Linked DNA regions of Homo sapiens: region 2 is linked to region 1. Evidence: promoter capture Hi-C in 16 types of primary human blood cells and fetal thymus (Javierre and others, 2016). All regions are on one chromosome and are shown on one strand. Each heading gives the region's core, a stretch centred on a gene start or on the middle of the fragment in contact. The rest is flanking DNA. Distances are from core to core; before and after follow the strand shown.

What was found. Contacts are between HindIII fragments. The CHiCAGO score rates a contact against its expected background, and 5 or more counts as called.
Region 2: a contact is called between a fragment that was not itself captured here and the fragment with the promoter of LITAF in region 1, in 4 of 17 cell types (monocytes, M0 macrophages, M2 macrophages and 1 more). The highest score is 7.9, in monocytes.

The regions. Positions count from the first base shown.
Region 1 is chr16:11,585,315-11,589,715 of GRCh38, forward strand. It overlaps LITAF (lipopolysaccharide induced TNF factor), which reads right to left and starts at 1,605. Exons shown (of 4, transcript NM_001136472.2): 1 at 1,572-1,605. RefSeq lists an enhancer at 359-468 and silencers at 1,369-1,448, 1,479-1,958. The HindIII fragment of the contact is 18,010 bases long and covers 1-4,401 here.
Region 2 is chr16:11,402,914-11,407,044 of GRCh38, forward strand. It overlaps LOC400499 (putative uncharacterized protein LOC400499), which reads right to left. Exons shown (of 67, transcript NM_001370704.1): 48 at 1,791-1,953. Among named protein-coding and RNA genes, the nearest start is that of RMI2, 60 kb to the left of the region's middle. The HindIII fragment of the contact is 554 bases long and covers 2,022-2,575 here.

The sequences.
Region 1 (4,401 bases), core at 355-2,854:
TACTTTCTCAAATGTGAATAAATGCATCAATTATTCATGCCTTAAAGTAACAGGAAAGAGGGAGATGGGCCTCCCTCATGGTAGATTACAATTAAATGTTTCTTAGAGAGTTTGGTGCACATTTAGTTCCCAGAGCAAGGGCTGGTGGAGAAGAAAGCCAAGTGCAATATGGGTGTTACTCTATGCCAGGTAAAGCAAGTCACACGCCATCTAGATCCTGCTCCAACTGATAAAACCAAAACACTGGTGGAATTCCAGATACCAGCCTGCACTTCTCTCTGTAGGCATCTGGGTTAGTCCTAAATAGGAAGTCCTAAAAAGAGTCACTCTGAGAAGGCAGGGGGTGAGAGGGCAGATGAAGCAGCCAAGCACACATTAAGGCAAATCATGGCTTTCCTAAAGAGGACCCCAAGCTGGGCTTCAGACAGTCTTTGAACCAGCACCAGTGCACCAGGCCAAGGGGAGGGAGGCATCCTCTTTGGGAAGACTGGTAGGAGCTTGGAAGACCCCGTGGCTTCCACAAACTGTAGATTTCCCAGTGACCACTGCTCAGTCCAACAGCCAGTGACATCAGCTCCACTGTCGGGAAGTAGAAAACCAGTGAAGGTCCAACTAGCCTGGTCCCTGAAGCATGACTGGCCCTTCCAGAACATACACCTTTCCCCTATCACCTCCTCTCCCTGACCCCGAAGAGCTTCGGGCACACCACCAACTGACCACCTATCCACAGTGACCTGCAAACCAGAGCGGGGAGGGTATTTGCCTAGCTTGGCAGGGAGGGGCGAGATCCACTTCTGCCACCAGTCACCAGCTGGTCCCACCAGCACCTACCCAGCACCGGCGGTGGACGGTGAGCGGCGTCTGGGCCCAGAGCTGGGTGCCATCAGCAGTAAGAGGACCCCTGCGCTCGCGGGGTGCCCGCCTTACCCCGCGGGGAGGGGTCAGGCCTAGGGGCCACGGCCCGCTTCGCTCTCTGATTTTCACCTCCCCAGGGTCTCCCAGGGGCCTCGGGTGTCCTTCCCGGATCTTGCGCGAAGTCGCGGGGGCAGGGAGAGAAACGCGGGTACCCGCGCCCCTAGAAGTCAAATGTTTGGCAAATAGCATTTGGGAATTCGTTGGGGTTTTTTTGTTTGTTTTGGTTTTGTTTCTGAACCCCCGGGGGATATTTCTGGAAATCTCAACCTGAGTCACTAGAGAGAATCGCGCCTTTTTCTAAAAAGCCCAGGGGCCGTCCTCTCCGGGGAGGGGGACGCGGCGGGCCGCGAAGGGCGCTCGTTCGGGTGGGGGCCGGACGACCCCGCCACGCGCGATCGGGCCACTCTGGGACGCAGGAGCTGAACCCAACCGGAGACGCGGCCGGGACCAGCGCTGGGAGGCCGGACCCCGCCCCGGCCGGGCCCCCACGCCCTCCGCCGCGCCTCGATGCCCGCGACCCGACCCGCGCCCCCTGGCATCCCAGGAGGCCCCAGCCAAGGGCTCAGTGCCCGGGGCCCCCAGCAGGTGCTGGCGCCACCGGCCCCCCGCTGTCTCCCGCTGGTCCCCGCGCCCCGGCGTCCCCGCGCCGCACTCACCGCCGCCCGCGCCGCCTGTCGAGCCGGGAGGTCTGAGCTGGCCTCTCGGGCGCCCCGAGAAAAGGGCCGGGCGGCGGGGACGGGGGCGGGGGCTGGACCCGCCGGGGCGGAGCGCGGCCGGCTTGGGCTTCCGGCTTCTCCCGCCCCCGCGGCCCGCACCTGGGCCCCAGGCGAGACCACCGCCGGTTCCCCGCCTCACTCTGATCGCCCCCAGGCTCCATCCCACACCCGGCTCGCTCGCCACCCCAGAGCTTCCCAGGCTTACCCCCGAGACGCCTGGCGCGGACCTGGTGTCTCCCCCACTCTCCTATCCTGCCCCTGCCTCTCGGTGCCAGCCCCACCCGTCCGCCCCCGACAGCCTGGCCCTCCCTCCTGATTTGCCGCTCGCGGCTCTCCCCACTTTCCCCCCTCCCCGCGCCGCTCCACCACTTCCAGGCGGCGGGACCACCAACCTCGACCCCGGACCCGCGCTGGGGCGCTCCCGGCCCTCTGGAGGGCGGCCCTTCTCTTCCTGTAACTCTACAGACGCGTCCGGACAGACCAAGACACTCTCTGTGCCTTCGGGCATGTTACCCATCCTCTCTGAGCTCGGCTTCCTGTCTGCAAAATGGGCACAATAGCGGTCCTGTCTCCTAAGACCGACTGGGAGTGAACTGGGAAGATGGTAAAGTTTTTAGCACAGGATAGGTATTAGGTAAGGCTTATCAGCTGCCTGTCCGCTTTGTGCCCCCAGGGTGGTCCGTGCCGCCAGGTAGGCCTTTCTCAGCCATCACTGAAAGCAAGCTCTGGAAATCAGTAGCCCCATTTCACATCCGCCCCTAAATGGGTGCCATCTGCCCGTCTGCTTGGAGCCCCATCGGCCGGCTGCAGTGATAACAGCAGCAGCCTGGATCCAGCAGGCTCTCTGGGAAATCATTAGAGGGAATTAAGAAGCATGCCTGGCTTTCAGAGTACACAGAGTCAGGAGATGGGCAGAACCATGATGTGGCCATCCACAAACAAACGCCATTTGGACAGGGAGCTTCCGAGCCCCATGCTGGCAAAGACCTGGATCTTAGAACCCTCCGGTGCCCAAATCCCATGCCTTTACCCGAGGTCCTAAAGATAGTGAGGCCCAGATAGGGAGTGTGGCTTGTCCCGGGTCCCTCAGCAAAGTGTCCCCAGCCCCAAGTTCTTGCCACCTTGCGCCATGTCCACTGACGGGCCACCCTCAGCCGTGGACGAGTTACCAAGTTGGAAGGGATTTCAAAGTTCTCCCAAGCATAGGAGGTTCCCATGTAGATGTTATTAGTGTGGGCAACATTTTACTGCTTTTAAAATATGAAGGGGGCGGGTGCAGTGGCTCTTGCCTATAGTCTCAGGACTTTGGGAGGCCATGGCCAGAGGATCTCTTGAGCCCAGGAGTTCAAGGCCAGGCTGGACAACATAGTGAGACTCCATCTCTATAAAAATTTTTTTAATTAAAAGAATAATAATAAAGCGGTGGAGTGGTGGCATGTGCCAGCTACTCAGGAGGCTGAGGTGGGAGGATTCCTTGACCTCCGGAGGTTGAGGCTGTAGTGAGCTATAATCGAGCCACTGCACTGTAGCAAGCAAGCAACAAAGAAAGAAAGAGGGAAAGAGGGAAAAGAGAAAGAAAAAAAAAAGAAAGAAAAAGAAGAAAGAAAGAGAAAGAAAGAAAGGGAAAAGAAAGAGAAGGAAAGAAGGAAGGGAGGGAGGGAGGGAGAAGAGAAGAACAGGAAATTGGATTACACCCAACCTCTGCCATTCCTCCATTCTCAGGATGCAACCAAGGCTTGCAAAGGTACCAATTATTATACTGACATTAAGACAGAATATCACAGACCATTGCTAGGGAGACATAACACCTAGGGAAAATCTCTCAGAGATAACGTTCAAGAAACATCCCTGTATGAATGCTTTTCTTCCTTCCTTCCTTTCTGTCTCTCCCTCCCTCCCAACCTTTTCTCCTTCCTTCCTTCCTTCCTTCCTCCCTTCCTCCTTTCCTCCCTTCCTCGCTTCCTCCCTTCCTTCCTGTAAAAAGCAGTAGTAAGCCTGAATTTTCTTCTGTCCTTTACTGAATACTACCACATCTTCATTTGTTTTTCTTTCCCCAACTGCTGAGCAGCAACAGGAGCCAGCTTTGTGTTTTTATCCATCCTAAACACTTACCACGGCTGTGAGCTTGCAATTATTTATGGGGAGAGCTATAAGACTGTAACTCTTTTCTTTGATCCCCAAAAAACCACAGAGATTGAATTTCCAACCCAAGGCTTCCAACCAGGGGGTAAAAGTAAACTGGGCCACGTGATCATCTCAATAGACGGAAAAAGCATTTGAAGAAATCCAATAATGCTTTCATGATTAAAAAAATAATAATAAACTAGAAATAGAAGGGAACTTCCTCAACCTTAGGGCTTCTATGAAAATCCCAGAGCTAATGACACACTTAATGGTAAAAGACTGGAAGTTTTACCCCTAAGAACAGGAACAAGCCAAAGTGCCCACTCTGGCCACCTCTGTCCAACATTGTCCTGGAGGTTCTGGCCATTGCCATTAGGCAAGAAAAATAAAAGCATCCAGATTGAAAAGGATAAAGTGAAGCTATCTCTATTCACAGGTGATATGATCCTATATGTAAGAACCCTAAAGAATGTACTAAATACCTATTAGAGCTAATAAACCAGTTCAGCAAAGTTGTGGGATTTAAGATTAACATACAAAAATCAGTTGCTTTTTTTTTTTTTTTTTTTTCGAGACAGGGTCTCTGTCACCCAGGCTGCAGTACAGTGGCTCGATCACAGCTCACTGCAGCCTTGACCTCCTGAGC
Region 2 (4,131 bases), core at 1,049-3,548, 180 kb before region 1:
CCCTCGGAAGCCCCACACCCCATGCCACCGTCTGCTGTCCTGTGCTCTCCTTCCATCTTGGATGTGACAGGTGACACCCCATAGCTGAGTCCTCGCAACAACAGATGGCCTCCACACCCCGGGTTTTCTTCCTCTGTCCCCCAGGTGAGTCAAGCTGACCTGACCTCCGACATCACTTGACCCCATCTCCTGAGGCCCCTGAGCAGCCCTGCTTTCCCAGACCCCACAGCAGGAGGCTGCCCGAGGCCCCTGTGCACGCTGGTGACCTGTGAGCTCTGTACAAAGGGCACCCACCTGTTCAGATGGGCTGCAGGAGCCGTGCCCAGAGACACTGGCACTGGCTGGTTCTCAGGGCATCACCCAGTCATTGGTTCTGGGGAGGCTGACCACATGCAGGGCTAGAACCCTTTGTTCCTGCCACCCGCTGACCCCACCTGCAACACTGTCAACACCGTGTGGGGCTGCAGACTGTGTAGCTCACCAAGGGTGGCACAAATACACACACACACAGGCATGCACACACGTGCATGTATACACACACATGCACACATACACACATGAGCACACATACACTCATGAGCACACACATACACGCATGCACACTGCCTTGGCTTGCTGGGGACCTGCTCACTTCCTCTGCCTTCCAGGGCACACATGTGGCAAATGTGACGCTGGGAGGATTCCATCAGGCCACCTGGTAAGCCGTGCCTCCAGGCTGGGGTCTGCACTCTGTCTCCACACCTGGCAGGCTGTGGGTCGGGCTCTGCTCTGTGCTCAGGAGGTTCCTTACACAGAAACTAAGTCTTGTGGCTGCCCAGGCCACAAATTACAGCCCCTTCCAGGGATGCCTGTTTCTGGAGGACCCAGGGGCTCATGGCTGCTGTTGTTGGCGCTGTGTCGGCACTCAGCTCCCCTGGCACCACAACTGCCCAGGGATGCCACCTCTTCCACGCCCTGGCCCCTTCTCCCTGCCCGGCTGCACTCAGGATAAGCCCCAGCTCCTCTCTATGAGCTGAGACGCTGCATGACCTGGGTCCCCCAGCCCTCCTGCCTCGCCTCATCCCTTCTCCCCATTCCAGCCATGCTAGCCCCGCAGCTGCTGCTCCACATGCAAACCTCATTTCCAAGTGGGGCCTTCCGCCTGAAGTGCCTCTGCTCAGATCTGCCAGCTCCTTCTCATCCTTCAGAACTCAGTTCAGAAGTCACCTCCTCCAAGAGGCCTTCCCAGACCACCCCACCTAAAGGAGGCCCACACCCCACAAAGACCCTGCTTGCTCTCACAGCCTTTCCCACTCGTGGAAATGGTCATGCTTGACGTTATTTTGCTTATGTGCATCTTGTTGCTCAATGCCTGTCTCCCTGAGGGGTGACACCTGGGCCATCTTGCTTCCTGATGGACCCCTGGTGCCTAGATTACACCTGGGATATGCAGGTGCTCAGTCATGGCTTTTTTGAGACCGAGTCTCACTCTCGCTCAGGCTGGAATGCACTGGCTCAATCTCGGCTCTCTGCAACCTCTGCCTCCCAGGTTCAAGCGATTCTCCTGCCTCAGCCTCCCAAGTAGCTGAGATTGTAGGTGCCTGCCACCATGCCTGGCTAATTTTTGTATTTTTAGTAGAGATGGGGTTTCACCATGTTGGCCAGGCTGGTCTCAAACTCCTGACCTCGAGTGATCTACCCACCTCGGCCTCCCAAAGGGCTTGGATTACAGGCATGAGCCACCGCGCCTGGCCAGGGATGATTTCTTGAGTGACTGGGCCACCCCTGCCTGCAGCCCCTCACACACTCACCCTGCAGGCTGAGGTTCCTGGTGGGCTTGGGGAAAGGCCCAGAAAGGCTCCCGGTGAGGGCCACCTCCTGGCCATCCCACAGCACCACCTGGCGCAGGACACGGGTCCCATGAGCTCGCTCGTATGCGGTCTGCAGGAACAGCTCCCTGGGAAGAGCGCTGAGCTGGAAGAGAATGACGGCGTCATGGGGGAACCCGACCCATGCTTCTGCCTGGGATGGGAAAGAAGAGAAGCTTGCAGAGGAGGAAAAAGGGAATATTTGTGGATCATTTACAGTTTCCTGAATGGTGACATATGTCAGGGGATCAAAAACCCAAATGCTTCCTAAGGATGAGCAGATAATTTAAAGGAGAGGAGTAGGTGAGGGGAGTATGGCCAACAGGAGACAGCACAGAACAGCCACTTCTCAATTCCATGGCCAAGCTGTGTGGCTCTGGGCATTTTTCAACCTCTCTGAGCCTCAGTTTCCTAGAAAATGGAGGCCAGAAAGTGTCAACCTTTGCAAGATGATACAAGTGGTGCACTCAGCCCAGGGCTACACGGTGGAGAGGAGCTTGTAGGAGGCACGCAGTTGGTATTGCGGTTTCTCAATCATGTAGCGAGCAGGTATCATGCTCCCAAGCCAGTGCTGAGTGCCTGGGTACAAAGCTAGCCAAGACCTGGTCCTGGCCCTTAAGGGGCTCCCAGGGAGATAGTCGAGATAGTCACAGGACAGAAAATGATGGGATAAGGTGACAAGGATGGTCACAAGAGACATTCAAGGGAGAAAGGAACGCAGAGAAGCAAGCTTGGGGAGGAGGCAGGGAAGAGCATTCTAGGCAGATGGAAGAGCCTGTGCAAAGGTTCGGAGAGGGACGCCGTCCCTGCTGGTGGGTGCCACAGTCCGAGGGTGACTTGAGGGCACTGCAGGGGGACTGCTGGGGTGGGGAAGGAAGTTTGCTCTTAAACGTCTCTAAAACCTATCACTACTGCCCCCAGCTTGGTCCACGCATTATTATTGCCCTGCCCCTGCCCATTATGGGGCTTCCTCACTGCTCACTTCTGCCACCTGTAGGTCCCTCCCCACACAGCAGCCAGAGGGATCTGAAATCATCATTTATTTGATCATGGCTTCAAAGGCTTCTAGTAGCAGATAGAACACAATGCAAACGCCTCCCTGTGGCCTGACTGACCCTGTGTGATCAGACCACCTCCTACCATTCCCCACCCACCCAGCTCCAGCCCAGTGGCTCCTTGGCCATTCCTAAAACATGCAAACCCATCCCTGCCCCAGGCCCTTTGCATGTCTTGTTCCCTCTGCCTGGAATACTCTTTTTAAAAAATGTATTTTAGATTGAGGGGGTCAGTGTGCATGTTTGTTACATAGGTATATTGTGTAATGGTGGGGACTGGGCTTCCAGCGTCCCTGTCACCCAAATATCGAACATCATACCAGGCAGGTAATTTTCCAACCCTTGGCTCCCTCTCACCCTCCTCCCTTTTGGAGCCCTCAGTGTTTACTGTTTCCATCTTTATGTCCATGTGTATTCAATGTTTAGCTCCTGCTTACAAGTGAGAACATGTGATACTGGGTTTTCTGTTTCTGAGCTAGTTCACTTAGGATAATTGCATCCCTGCTGCTGCAAAGGACAGAATTTCATTCTTTTTTCCGGCTGTGTAATATTCCATGGTGTATATATACCACAGTCTCTTTACCTGCCTCGAATGCCCCTCCCCCAGAGATTTCTTTTTTCTTTTCTTCCTTTTGAGATGGAGTTTCACTCTTGTCACCCAGGCCGCAGTGCAACGGCGCAATCTCGGCTCACTGCAACCTCCACATCCTGGGTTCAAGCAATTCTCCTGCCTCAGCCTCCAAAGTAGCTGGGATTATAGGCATGTGCCACCACGCCTGGCTAATTCCATATTTTTAGTAGAGACGGGGTTTCCCCATGTTGGCCGTGCTGGTCTCGAACTCCTCACCTCAGGTCATCCACCCGCCTCGGCCTCCCAAAGTGCTGGGATTACAGGCGCGAGCCACCGTGCCCGGCCTTCCCCCGGATTTTCAAATGGCTGGTGCTTATCATCCACCGCTAGCTCATGTGTCGTCTCTTCAGTGGGGCCTTTCCTGGCCACCTAATCTAAATAAGCTCCTTGGTCACTCTCAGTCACTTCAGTACGTTTTCTCCGTATCATAGTACTATCTGGCATATTTCGTTTGTGTGATTTCGGGGAGTCAATCTCCCCCGCTAGAGTGGACACTTGATGAGAGGAAGGATTGATCAGATCTGTTTTAGGTCACGCCCCAGCTTCTGAAATAGTGCCTGGCACCTAGTAGATGCTCCATAAATCATGCAATAAATCC